Linked DNA regions of Homo sapiens: region 1 is linked to region 2. The links are contacts of gene promoters, found by promoter capture Hi-C in blood cells and fetal thymus (Javierre and others, 2016). All regions are on one chromosome and are shown on one strand. The core of a region is centred on a gene start or on the middle of the fragment in contact, and the rest is flanking DNA. Distances in the headings are between cores, read along the strand shown. Region 1 overlaps SKAP2 (src kinase associated phosphoprotein 2). Region 2 holds the start of HOXA10-AS (HOXA10 antisense RNA).

Region 1 (7,111 bases), core at 2,071-4,570, 480 kb before region 2:
AGTGCTAACATGTAAAGATTTTGTTCTCGCTTCCTTTCTGAAAAAACACTAACCAAAACCTTTTGTAGCAACCTACTTCTGCTTTCCTGTCCAGGTCTAGAATCAGGCCTCTGTTTCCTTTCCACATGTCACAGTAGGAAGGACTCTGGAAAGCTACTTCCTGAACACACACTTCTTGTCCACCCGGCCTTGACAGCTTGAAAGAGTGATGTATGGACATATCAGAGAGGGGAAGGTGACCCTAACTCTAGCTTTTTGCAAGACACAGAGATGATATGGCAGACCTTGCCCCAGCTGACATGTGGCTATGAAGAGGTGTAAAGTCCTGATAAGAAGGCAGTCTTTCTCTTCTTTCCGTGTAAAATAATTGCTGGTTTATCAAAACTAACCTCATGCTTGCACTACAGATATGGTTTATCTCCTGCTATTTGGAAATAACAACAAGCAAGAAAAGTTGTCCGTATCATGTGATTTTGTACAGAGTGTGTGCAATTATTTTTCCAGTCTCATTCATAATTAGTACTTGGGGATATGTGCCAAGTGGAAATGGATAAGGGGAACATCCTTCCTAGCCTTTTAGGCCACTAGTGTCCTTTTCCAATTTTTAAGCTGCTGTCACTGGACTCTGGCATTTCTTACCCAATTCATTTGCTTTCTGTGTTAATCATATGCAATGAAGATATGCATGGCCAACATTTAAACAGGCTGCAGATCAATTAGCAGTCTTAAGTTTATCTGATTTTTATCAAAGAAGACAGAGCTGTGGGTCGACTGTCAGAGCCTGTGTCAAGTTGACCTTTTCAGAGATGTCTACATTGCCAGTCCCCTGGGCAACTTGTTGTCCCCTGTTAGTCTCTGAATGGCAGAAGTCTGTTCTGCTCAAGCACAAAGTATACACAGATGTCTATATTACATTCTTATAGGTTTGACAGCAACTGCATGTTGTATCTATAAACTGTCCTTTAGCAGTGACACTTCCTCAATGATGATAAGCTAATTTATGCAACTAAATCTCCTTTGTGCAGAAATGAAAGCTAATTGAGTCATTACAAAGTAATTCAGGAAGGAATACCTTGTATAAATTGGCTTACTTTATAAATCCTTCTCAAGTGGTTTTCATGCATCCTAAATGGGACTAAGCAGCTTATCAGCCATAAGATATCCAAGCCAAAAATGCCAACTTTGGGGAGCTGTGTAAACATCTTTAGAACAGTAAGAACATGGATAAAATGAAAGTGAACAAAAGCAAAATAAGGTTTGCCAAGAAGCTACACAAGTCATTACCTGAGGTGTGATGGACACTATCCTGACTCATCTTCCTTTGTTCTTCCACTTTCACTGGAGCACTGTCCTCTTCTTCTTCTGTAAATAAACATTATCAATGGCACATTGAAGGGTTTTCTCAGGGATAACACTACAGTACTCACTCAATTTTAAAAGCAAAACTAAAAGTTTATAACACATAAACATTATTTTTCAAAGAATAAAATAACTCAAGATTCACAGTCCTTTTTCGACAATCTAACACTGAATAAATAAAATACTAGCTACTGCCAAATAGCAACCTTTCCAACTTTCCACATAGCAAACTTTCCAACTTTCCAATAAAATACTAGCTACTTCCAAATAGCAACCTTTCCAACTGGCTTGGCAAAATTTAAGATATGTACTAATGCACTGCATGTTTTGTTTTAAATACTTTTAGAAACTCATCTGGAACAATCTTAATTTCAGGAAAACCCTTAAATCCAGTAAAGTAACACCCAGCGTTATACTGATACACCACATTGTACTGTGTGGCAGGAGTATCATATATAAAATCATGGTCCCTAAAACATCATATAGCAAGGAGAAATGTGTGATTAAAAATGCAGTTAACCTATAAATCATTTTTTTGAGTATCACATAATTTCATACGTTTTCTCAATCTTCACAGGAAGATACTATAATGATCTTCATCCTTTGAGGTAATTCCCCCAAAATTATACCAAGGACCTATTATGTGTCATATACAATGCTGGATGTTAAAATCTCATAGACAAATAATTTTTAATCCTCATTCTACAGACAAGTTTATCTTTAGAGACTCAAAAAGGTGAAGTAACTTCCAAAGTGTGTCATTCGAACTTAAGTTTGTGATTATAAAGTCAATGTTCTTTATCCTACATATAATCAGTGCTCCATTTACATTTGTTCCACACTCACCTATACCATTCCTTCCCCAAATTATGCAAAGAAATAAGATAAAATTAAATGAGAAGAGCTTTAAATAGACTTAATAAACTAATTCATTTACACCAAGAAAAATATTTATTACATGATTTTTCCTCACCTAAGGATTTGCATACAAACCTAGAAATACTTAAGGCAGGACATATAAACAAATGGCATGCCAAAGAAAAACTGGATTCAAAGAGAATCATAATTTCAAGAAAACTCCTAAAACTTTAAAGAAAAATATGCAAAATATATAAATGTAGTCATTGTAACTATTCAATCAATCAGTCAATCAATCTTCATTGGATATTAACTAACTGTGAGACAGAAGAGATCTACCAAGGAGGTAAAAGTAACAGGAAGCCTCTGCTCACAGGAAGCTGACAGCACAGATGGGACAGAAGACAAGCTCTAAAGGAAAACAGGCTGAAGGGGCCTAAACCTGACAAGTGATGCACAAAGCACTGAAGAAGTGCAGCAGAGAAACCCCCCAACTAGGGAGTACCACGGAGGCTCCAAGGGATGGAGAGAGTTTAAATAAGGAGAGAGGATAAGAAGGATATTTCCGGAGGGATAGGTATGATCTTTAAAAGAAAAAGGCATGTTCATATTCATTTTGACTAAAGAATCTGGTACACATAGGGGAAGAGCTGGGTAGGAGTTACGCTCATAGTTTGGACCAGCTGTTGAGGGGCCATGAACATCTTGTTATGGACTGCAGGCTTTTATTTGGTGGGCAATAAGAGCCTTCGAAGGTTTTTTGAGCAGAGAAAGGGCAGGACTGAAGCTATGCTTCAGGAATGGACATCTGATCCCATTGTCTCAGACAGCCTAAAAAAGGGGCGGGAGAGAGACTACTGTGGATAAAGGGGAAGGAAGTCCTGAACTGAAGGGGCAAAGGAAATGGAAAGGAGATGGTTATAAGAGGTAAAGGAACTAGAATGGATAAGCTTTGTGCCTGAATGTGGAGGAATGAGGGGGGGGAAAAGAGCAACAAAGGATGGCTAAGGTTTTGAGCTTAGTTAACTGAGAAATGGACATATTATTACTAAAAGGAGGATAGCCAAAATAATCTATCTTACTGGGGAACACAAAGAGTTGTGTTTTCAACAGGAGGAATTTAATGTATTGGTGAGGCAACCCAGAGAACATGTCTGGGCAACTGCAAAGTATGGTAGAGCAGTCAGGACTACAGGTGGAAATTTAGGAGTCTCCTGAAAATGTTAAATGGGGATGAATCAAAATCAGCATTTCAACCAAGCTTGAGAGGGTAGCTGTACTTACACGACAAATAGAACTGTTCTGAATTTCTGTAACTCAATTCAAACAAAATAATGACAACTCCAATATAAGGGACACCTGAAAATATCTGGCATTTTATTCATATTGTTAAACATAACACTGACAATTTAATATGGTTCAGTCAAATATATAGAAGACCTAATAAAAGTATACCACTCTTTTAAAAAGTATCCTGTCTCTTTTCTTTTTAACAATAGTTATCTCACTTATGCCAAACCTTAAAGGCTAGCTTTAATAAATGGGTTAATAGGGTGTTTCCATATAAATTTTTAAAGGTAGAAGGAACGTTTACAGTCATTATTCCAACCTACTCATTTTATTGACAGATAATTTGGTAAAAGGTGAAGGAGAAAGCTTTCCTTACTTTTCACACTTTCTTTCCATAGCACCCACTCCCCTTTTAATTTAGTCACAAATTCAATAGTAAGAAATAAATTAAAAAATGGATAAAGGCACTCGTCCTCAGTCAAAAGCTATAACCGCATCAATACAATAAGTATTATTAGTGGCTTTTAAGAAGAGACTGTGGGGGCTGGGCATGGTCGGTCACGCCTGTAATCCCAGCACTTTGAGAGGCCCAGGCGGGTGGATCACCTGAGATCAGGAGTTCGAGACAAGCCTGGCCAACATGGCAAAACCACGTCTCTACTAAAAATACAAAAATTAGCATGGCATGGTGGCAGGCGCTTGTAATCTCAGCTACTCAGGAGACTGAGGAAGGAGAATCGCTTGAACCTGGGAGGCGGAGGTTGCAATGAGCTGAGATCGCGCCACTGCACTCCAGTCTGGGCGACAAGAGTGAAGCTCCATCTCAAAAAAAAAAAAAAAAAAAAAGAGACTGTGGGATTTAGATTTCACCACCCAAATCAGCATGAACATATAAAAATTCATTACAAGACTTAATGAAAAAACTCTGCTCTTTGACAAAGTTAACAATGAATTTAGAAGTATTTGTTACTATGAATTTTTTATTTTATTAAAACTTAAGTGCCAGTAACATGTGCTCTGGATTGTATATTGGTGTCAGAGAGCTTTGTTCTTAGAAATATGCACTCTTAAATTATCAGAATAATGATATTAAAAGTATTTACTTAAGAATTAATGTTTACTATAAAATATCCAAATTGAAATCCATGTAAGATGCCATTTAATAAGCAGATTTTAGAGGATGAGATGCTCATTAAGGACACTTCCTTTTTCCATTTTAAACCTGGTAGCGATATTTTTAAACCAAAGCTTTATGCATTTAATATATCAATTTTTCTTAACAATATTTAAACAACTCATTTTATCTTGGCTAACAATACAAATAGCTTCCATATAAAAGATAACAAAATCAAATATGGTGTATGTTTTTGAATCTTAGGCAGGGAAAAAAACCTCAGACTGAACCTTGAATAGAACTTGGCACAAAGGAGATGTTCGATAAATACAGAATAAACAAATGGATTAAAAAAATCATACAAATAAATCTTAACATATTCATTTATTAATAGAATAAAGCTCTTAAAAATATGTAAGAACAAGTGACCAAAATTCTAGGCAATAATCACCTTCACAATATATTAGAAATATATACATTCACATATTTTTTTATTTAGGTTTATTATTAAATATGTATTATTTTGGTGTTGAGGCACAATGTCATTGTACAATACTAATTAATACCTCAAGTAGTCAATGTTTGTGAGTTAATATATTCCATTCAACATTTTAATAACAGTAAACAAAAACAGCTCAGCTATGCAGTAAAATCCATCAAACCACACAGATGGTTATAAGGTTTTCATTATGTGGTTTCCATAGCAATCATATTGCAAACCTGGAAGCTTCTTGCAAATAAGCAGCTTGTATTTACATGCCTCTCAGCTGCAGCACAAAACTCTTCAACATGTGAAGTTATTATTCCAATCACACATTGTTAGAAGAATCATCAGGAGATTTTTTTTTTTTTTTTTGAACAGACAGGATGAAAGTAACAGTAAAGTGAGCTAAGTGCAGAAGAAAATTCAAACATAGTCACACATTTACTAAACTGATCAGTGAGAACAGCAGAAATGTTCTGGTAGTCATCAAAAGGTTTTAACAATAAACTCTGTCAAAAATATGAAACTTCCAGGAGCAATCAGACCCTGAAGAATTAAAAAAAAAAACAACTGCACCCACCCCTCTTTTTAATAGATATTTGGCCTTCTCTCTGAGTTAAGCAAAGAGAGGAAGAATGGCAAATAGTTTGAGTCTTCCCAAATCTTTTTAGCATTTGAGAAAAGGCTTACTGTGGGAAAAGTCATGGCCCTTTTTCCCCCTTTTTAATCTATTTAATTTACAAAATTGATCCAGTTCCATAACAGATGGATTATTACCCTAATAGGGATTGCAAATCTGTCTAGCTATGCAGTTTTTACAAAATGGGCATTTACGGCTTACTAATGTTCTTATCTTTAGGATAAATAACCAAAAAGAAGAGTGATAAGCAAATGGCACCATTTAGCTGACACTGCTTGAAAAAAGGTTGAAGAAAATTTGTTAACACCAACTCAAGGTATGCGATGTTCACATCAAGGCCGAGGACTGATTTTATCATCTCTTCCAGGGAGAAGAGGAAGATGATATAAAAAATCTTTCACTTACATAATGATCACCTTTCTCACTAAATACCCTCAGAAAACAGCTTTACTAAATTATAATGTACTTTAAAACATAAAACACAGAATCAAAAGTTAAGCTCTGAAATAAAGTTTGGATTTAGATCTCCACCTGTCCAGGCATTATTTAATATTATATATTTTTCTCAGGAAATGTGAATATTTATTGCTTAAATGTTCACATTATATGCATTTATATCCATTATGTAACTAAATCCTCCAACAATTCTATGAGGTAATTATAAGTACTTTTATCATCACCATTTTATGAATATGAAAAATGAATTTATGGAGCTTGAATAACTTGTCAAGGTTCATACATCCAGTTAGTACATAAGCTGGGATTTTAACTTTAGGCATATGCCTTAACTCTAAGCCACAGTGTCTCCTCCTTTATTTTCATTAAAATCTTCAATTTACAGGTGGATTGCTTTCTAAAATTTTACTTAAAATACTGTCTGTTTGTGGACTTTGAAAACATTTTCACATAGAATAGTAGGTTCTACACTATCATAGCATCGTATCTGAAGAACATCTTAAGCAAACTTTTTAGTGCTGATTTAGAAACAATTGCAACCAGGGCTGCCCAAAATATATGGTCTTCTTTCTCCTCTCCCAGTTCCCCTTCCTCACCTCTAGCTTTTAACACACTCCTCTGTTCCTAAAGTTACACACTATTTGGGCATTGCACACAAGATGCCCGAGTGGGAGATGGAAGAGGTGACATGGGGGAACAGAGGACACCACCGGCTAGTCCTAGTGGTAAAATGTAAAAGATAGAAGTACTGGGAGGATACATACAAATGGAACCCCACCCGCTCTTCTCTCCCATGACCTGTGGCAAGTCACAAAGGCTGGAAGAAGGGTTGGAAAAGTTAGAGTCGAATCTAAGGGGTATGGGCAAAAGATTCACAATTATGACAGCAAGGGAAAGTGAGCTCCCCAGG
Region 2 (6,540 bases), core at 2,885-5,384:
CTCGAGAGGCTTCCAGCGAGGACGAAGGCAGGCTCGAGAGAAACCTGGCGGGCCAGCAGATCCGGGAGGCCGGCGTGGAGGCGGCGGCGGATTTGAAGGGAGGAGACACTTACTGGGATCGATGGGGGGCTTGTCTCCGCCGCTCTCATTCTCAGCATTGTTTTCAGAGAAGGCGCCTTCGCTGGGTTGTTTTTCTCTATCAACTGGAGGAGAACCACAAGCATAGTCAGTCAGGGACAAAGTGTGAGTGTCAAGCGTGGGACAGTCACCCCTTCTGGCCGACAGCGGTTCAGGTTTAATGCCATAAGGCCGGCTGGAGGGCAAGCCCGCGAAGGAGAGCGCACCGGGCGTGGGCTCCAGCCAGGAGCGCATGTACCTGCCGTCCGGCGCCGCCGCCGCCACGGGCGCCTGGGGGTGCACGTAGGGGTGGTGGTGATGGTGGTGGTACACCGCAGCGGGTACAGCGTTGGCGCCCGCCGCGTGCACTGGGTTCCACGAGGCGCCAAACACCGTCGCCTTGGACTGGAAGCTGCACGGGCTGAAGTCGGGGTGCTCGGCCAGCGTCGCCGCCTGCCGGGGAGGCTGGCCCAGGGTCCCCGGCGCATAGCGGCCAACGCTCAGCTCATCCGCGGCGTCGGCGCCCAGCAGGAACGAGTCCACGTAGTAGTTGCCCAGGGCCCCAGTGGTGGCCATCACCGTGCCCAGCGCCTGGCCCGCCCGGCCCGACCCACGGAAATTATGAAACTGCAGATTTCATGTAACAACTTGGTGGCACCGGGGGGGAAGTACAGTCACCTAATAAGTTGCCGGCGCCCGCGCCCCCATTGGCCGTGCGCGTCACGTGCCCGTCCAGCAGAACAATAACGCGTAAATCACTCCGCACGCTATTAATGGTCCGATGTTTTGCAGTCATAATTTTTATAGCAAAAGCCATATGTTTTTATGTAAAGGGATCGTGCCGCTCTACGATGGGGTTTGTTTTAATTGTGGCCAACGACGATTAAAAGATCAAATCTAGCCTTGTCTCTGTACTCTCCCGTCTCCCCCCCCATACACACACTTCTTAAGCGGACTATTTTATATCACAATTAATCACGCCATCAAGAAGGCGCGGGTCCCGCGTGCGAGTGCGGCCAGCGGAGCCCCTCACATAAAATTAGACAATAATTGAAGCCATAAAAAAGCAGCCAAATCGCATTGTCGCTCTACTGTATTTAAATCTATATTTATGATATTTCATAAGGAGTTATTGTTTCAGAAGCCACACAGGCTGGCGGGAAGTCGGAAACGACCAACAGATTCGTTTGCCTCGCCGTGGCTCCCAGCTGTAAAAATTTACGAGGACTTGGAAAGGTTAGACTGTTGTGTTTGGTTGGCGAGCTCCCTGTAAATAATCCCTGCGGTCCCCGGGAGAGGCGAGTTTACCCGCGGCCGCCCTCGAAAAGTCAAATTCAACGCAGGATCCGTCCCAAACGGAGCCGCCGCCGGCCCTACCAGGGCACTCCAGGCAGGGACCGGCCGCTCAGGGAGTACCGCGGGTGTAGGTCCCCACAGCTACCCGCCTGGAGCGAGGGGCGCCCGGGCAACCCTTAAATTCGCCTTTGCTACGAGGACCCCACGGAGGAGCTGGCCAGGAGGGAGCGGCCAGCCGCCACCAGGGCGAAGGTTTTGAGGGCCTGGTTGGTTGTGCGGCGCGCTCGGTCCCCGGCCCTCGACCCCACGCACACGCGCGCCCAGCCCGCCTTTCTCATCAGCTGGCAATCAGGATTCCCAGGCGCAGGCGGCTGGCGACCCAGCCCTGTGCTCCAGCCTCAGAGGCTCTAACCATGAGCGCTGCAAGCCTGGTTGCGCTCCGTGAATCCCAGCTGGGGAAAAAACTACAAGTGGCATGAATGGAAGGCAAGTTCGGTTTGGGAAAAGGCAGCCTCGCCTAAGAGACCCCGCAGCTCCGGAACCTGGGAGGCCCGCACCGATGTGGCCTGTCCCGGGGCCGCGTGAGCCTTTCAGGGCTCCTTCCTCCCTTTCCAGCTGCTACTCCGGGCCTCGCCTTGGTTACCTACGGGGCCCGGAGACTCGGCGGAGAGGTACAAGGCCCAAAGAGAGGCAGCCACAGCTCAAGGCCAGGGCTGGAAATTAGAACGGGGAGGGGTAAAAGGGCATCGACTCCAGTCCCATTCCTGGGCCTGGCCACGTTGGGGAAGTTTATTTCTCACCCGTTGGGGGTAAATTAAAAGGTCGCCGCCACTCCGTTAATTGGAAGGAAACTCCCCCTGCCCCCAATTCCTAACAGAAAGCAGCGACTCCTAGAACAGGGGTAATCAAATTCACGTGTGGATACTGTGCCTGCAACAGTGTGTTTTTCATTAGCCCACTTCCCTGGCGGCGAGGCTGGCGGCCTCGGGCGCTTCCATCTCTCTCTCTCTCTTTTGCCTTCATCCTCACCAGCAGTTCCAGTAATCCCCCCCTCAAACACCCTGACACACTTCCGGCTGGGACTCCCAAATACCAGCGAGGCTGCCAAGCCGCGCGGATACCGACTGGGTGCCCCTTCCTGCACCCGCGCCTGGAAGAGGGAAGTGGCCGACACAATGAACTCCGAAATGGCCCCGTCCTGTCCGCCTCATCTCCCTCCCCCTAATATTTTCCTTGCCCCATAAATTCCTCTAGGTCATGCCCACCCCCACCACAGTCCACCGTGTCCTAAATACCCCGCAGTCCGCCAGGCCTCTGAGATTTTCATTTAAAAAATTAACCCTGGAGGAAACCCTGGCTCCCAATTTTAAGTGTCTGCAAATGGGCTGGGCATGTCTGGATGCCTTTTCCACGTTTTATGCCTGAGAAGACACTGATTATTTCAGTATTTTTTAAGTAAAAAAGCTGTTCCTTTAAACAGCCTTAGCCCCAAAATAAGAGAGTTACTGAACAATTAGCAGGCGTTGAGTGTTAAGCAGATGTTACTGGTGCCTAGAAAGCGGAGAAAAATCAGAAAACCAAATATTGTCTTCCTTCAGCCCAAAGGTTTGGAGCCAGAATAGTCTGACTTTTTTGTCTGCTTTTATTTTCGAAGTGAAAGAGATTGCGTATGCATAAAGAAATAATAAATGAGTATAATTTAAAGCGGCCCCTTCTCGACTGAGATTTCTGAAACTGTGATCTCTGAAATAAATCCAATGCCCTGGTCCAGAAAATGGCAGGGAGGAGTTGAAGGGAATGGGGTGTGTGGTCCTTTCAGACAGCAGGTCGGTGGCTGTGCAACGAAAGAGTTCCTGGGCCTCCAGTCCAGGCAGGGAAAGGAAACAGCTTTGTGGGCACGAATCTGTAACTGTGTGTGTTGGGAGTAGGGAGAGATAGTTTGTTTTCTGTTTTCTGTAGGGAAAATGGTCAGACTGGCTCCCATCTGTAGACTACAATTTGGAACGATGACTCAAGTTTATATCAATGGCTCTGGAATTTGGGATTCTTTTTGCCCATTTAAAACATACTGGCTCTTGGAAGGGTCCCCTTCTCCAGCACCCAGCTGCACAAAGGTGCTGTATGGAACATATTTTGTACCTAATGGAAGCCACTAGTAAGCAAGCAGTCAAGCTTTGCCCTAGCCAGTCTCCCTCAATGCGGTCAAACCCCAAGCTGTGACCGGCAGGCCGGGAAGAGCCAGCTAAGAGCTTCCCAGCGAATGGCCAGGCTCCAGCGAGGCTGGTTGGGCCTCAGCTCCAGTCCCCAGTGAGGCTGGCGAAGGCCTCCCTGCCCTCGATATGGGCACACAAAGCTGCAGCGAATGTCCCCTAATCAGATCTCCTAGTCAGCCGTTAGCGACAGGCGAAGAAACGCAAGGCTGCCGCCATCCGGTCGTGATCATAACCGAGGCCTTGTCTGCAGAGTAACACACCAGGCCCAAACCCACCGCCCTCGGCAGCCGCCCCACGCGGGCCCTTCCTCGGCAGACTTCCCAACCTCTACTTGAGCCGCAGAGGAAAGTGAGACCCCCTAGGCTCTCCTGAAGCCAGCTCTGGGCCCCTCCCCAAGGATGCTTTGGGAAGGAGATAAGGAGGTGAGATAGAATCTGGCAGAGACGGAAGATGAAAAAAAGACCAACGGAAGAAAAGAAAGCAGGAAGGAGCAAAGGAAAGAAGAAAAAAAGAAAGAAGAGATAAAAGAGGAAGGGAAGACAGGGAAAAGAAGGAAGAAAAGAGAGGCGACTCCTAGCAGCGGCCGAGCTTACAGAGAGAAGGGTAAGTGACAAGGCCAGGATCCCAGCCTGCCCTATCCTTCCTAGTCCAGCCTGAGTCTCCACTGGAAGGAGGTTCTTTCCTGAGCTCACACCCGGGACTGGTGTGTGTGTGTGTGTGTGTGTGTGTGTGTGTGTGTGTGTTCCAGCCTTACAAGAGAATGGCAGGAGGTCCCTGGGCAGGCGCAGGCCTCCAGTGGGAGGCTCAGGATGGAAGCGGGCGCCCCTGACCTTGAATGGCCCAAAGCCCAGAATTCCTACCACGCCCCCGGCGTCCGCGAAGGAGCAGCCAACCTAACCCTACCTGCTGTGACCAGGTGGAGGTGTGTGGTGGAAGGGGAAAGCCGGCCGGCTGGCAAAGCGCTGCGGAGAAAGACACGAGGCTCCTGAGCAGGGAAAGCCGAGGTTGCCACCGCAGGCCTGGCACGACCAGGGCCGTGATGCCCCGCCCGGCCCGACCCCCGCGCGCAGAGGTACCTGGAGACGATTTCAACTGAAGTAATGAAGGCAGTGTCGTGCTGTCGAGAGAAAGGTGGATCCCAACAACAGGAAACTACCTAAATCACCGACCAGTTCTGGTGCTGCCCGCGAAGGGCTGCCTCGCCCGCCGCCGCCGCCGCCTCCGCCGCTGCCGCCGCCGCCAAGGAGAGAACCCTGCCATCGCGCCTGGCCCGGCCCAGCCCAGCCCCTAGGCAACCTGCGCCCGCCAGTGCAACAGAGTGCCCCAGGCGGCCGCAAATGCGTCAAGGAAGGGGAAGCCACAGGCCCCAGTAAGGTATTCCTGGGAGGGAGAGGGAGGAAAAGAGAGGGAGGAAAGGCAGGGAGAGAGGAATAAAGGCGGGGAGCAGGCGAGACGAGAGCAGCTCCGAGAAGCAGTGTGCGCGCCGCTTTCCCAAATCTTGCAGCCCAGCGAGCCGGCGCCAAGAGGCGGTAGCCGTGGAAGGCTCGAAAGCGCCAGGGACGGTACAGATCCCGGCTCCCTGTCTGGCCCCGGCCTCCCGCCTCTCGCTCTCCCCCTCTCCCTCCTAGCTGCCCGCCCGCCGGGGCGCGCGCTCCTGCGCCCCCTCCCCTTAGCCCCCGCCCCCCCCACTCTGGCAAGCAGGAAACGCGTGGCCCTAAGGAGTGCCGCCAGGTGGGGGAGGCCGTACTGGGGGAGGGGGAGGCCCCCATGCAGTCCAGCCCGGGTCCACCTAACCGCTGCCTCCAGCGGCTAGAGATGCGCTGTGGGCCAGGCCTGCTCCCCGATTCAGATTGAGGGTCATCTGTGACCCAGACACCCGCAAAATAACCGGCCTCTGCAAGCCTCCCTGGGGCTCCCGAAAGAAATCCTGTTTGGCTTCCTCTGTCTATGTAGCTCCCCTCTCAACTGAAATCACTGGTCCAAGACAGCCACAATCCAGATATACTAGCAAGCCATAAAACTGAACAAAAGCCGACAAACCTTACGGCACCAGGGCTATAGGGCCCAGACAAATTACGACCGTCTAGGTAATATTTAAATAGATGCCTAAAGTAATTGCAGGGGCTCGGGTTAGTCCTCCTGTTGTAAAAGTGGTGAACGGGATAAAGTGGAAGGTGAAGATAAGAAGTCAAAAAAGAGGTAAAATTAAAAAGCTTCATTCCACAGCTTTTATTCTATAAGAACATAAACATCGTCTTTTTCCACGCACAGCAGCAATACAATATTAATTTATTCTGATTTAAGATTAGAAGTAAATAGAGCTAGAACTAACATTTATAATAACGATAGAATGCATTTGCTTAAAACAAGATTGGCAATTCTTCATAATAATAGACATTTATACAGATTTGTATTTATAGTTTTTTTCTTTTTCTGCATCTACAGGTTTGACCCTTTTATGCATGTAACTTCACAGTATAAAGGAAATCCAAACAATGTCTCCCTTCTCTAGTTTATTCCGCTTACCCCAGTCCTCCTAGGCTTCTGTGAATTTCAGAAAGCAAAAACAAACAAAAAAAAAACTTTTTGTTCAAGGCGATTTAAAAAAACAACTTCACAAGATAGGGAGAATTGTGGTGTGCTTGTCACATGTTACCAGTGGTAACAATTTTAATGACAAAAAAATCCACTAATTCCAAATGCATAAACAAAACTACATTATTTATCTACAGCCAGAAGGATATGGAAATTTAGAGGTAAATGAAACATTTTAGTCAGGCAATGTAAGACCTTACAGAAACTGGAAGAGAAGTCCCCTTCTCTTGGTAATTCTTTTTTTTTCTTTTTAAAGCTGGGATATCTTACAGAGGAAGGAAAAATTAACCTTTTTTACTTTCTTTCTCACTTTTTAAAT

What was found. Contacts are between HindIII fragments. The CHiCAGO score rates a contact against its expected background, and 5 or more counts as called.
Region 1: a fragment that was not itself captured here is called in contact with the fragment with the promoter of HOXA10-AS in region 2 in 3 of 17 cell types (total CD8 T cells, activated CD4 T cells and total CD4 T cells); the score reaches 5.6 in total CD8 T cells.

Annotation. Positions count from the first base shown.
Region 1 is chr7:26,689,001-26,696,111 of GRCh38, forward strand. SKAP2 (src kinase associated phosphoprotein 2) reads right to left here. Exons shown (of 13, transcript NM_003930.5): 10 at 1,285-1,362. Among named protein-coding and RNA genes, the nearest start is that of LINC02860, 55 kb to the left of the region's middle. RefSeq lists an enhancer at 78-1,183. The HindIII fragment of the contact is 311 bases long and covers 3,166-3,476 here.
Region 2 is chr7:27,164,765-27,171,304 of GRCh38, forward strand. HOXA10-AS (HOXA10 antisense RNA) reads left to right here and starts at 4,135. Exons shown (of 3, transcript NR_046609.1): 1 at 4,135-4,229; 2 at 4,543-5,000. HOXA10-HOXA9 (HOXA10-HOXA9 readthrough) reads right to left here. Exons shown (of 3, transcript NM_001433944.1): 2 at 114-203. It overlaps MIR196B (microRNA 196b), which reads right to left and starts at 4,799; the gene lies at 4,716-4,799. It overlaps HOXA9 (homeobox A9), which reads right to left and starts at 773. Exons shown (of 2, transcript NM_152739.4): 1 at 114-773. The coding sequence starts at 693. It also overlaps HOXA10. RefSeq lists enhancers at 1-186, 187-1,063, 1,912-2,630, 3,820-4,410, 4,411-5,001. The HindIII fragment of the contact is 2,254 bases long and covers 3,584-5,837 here.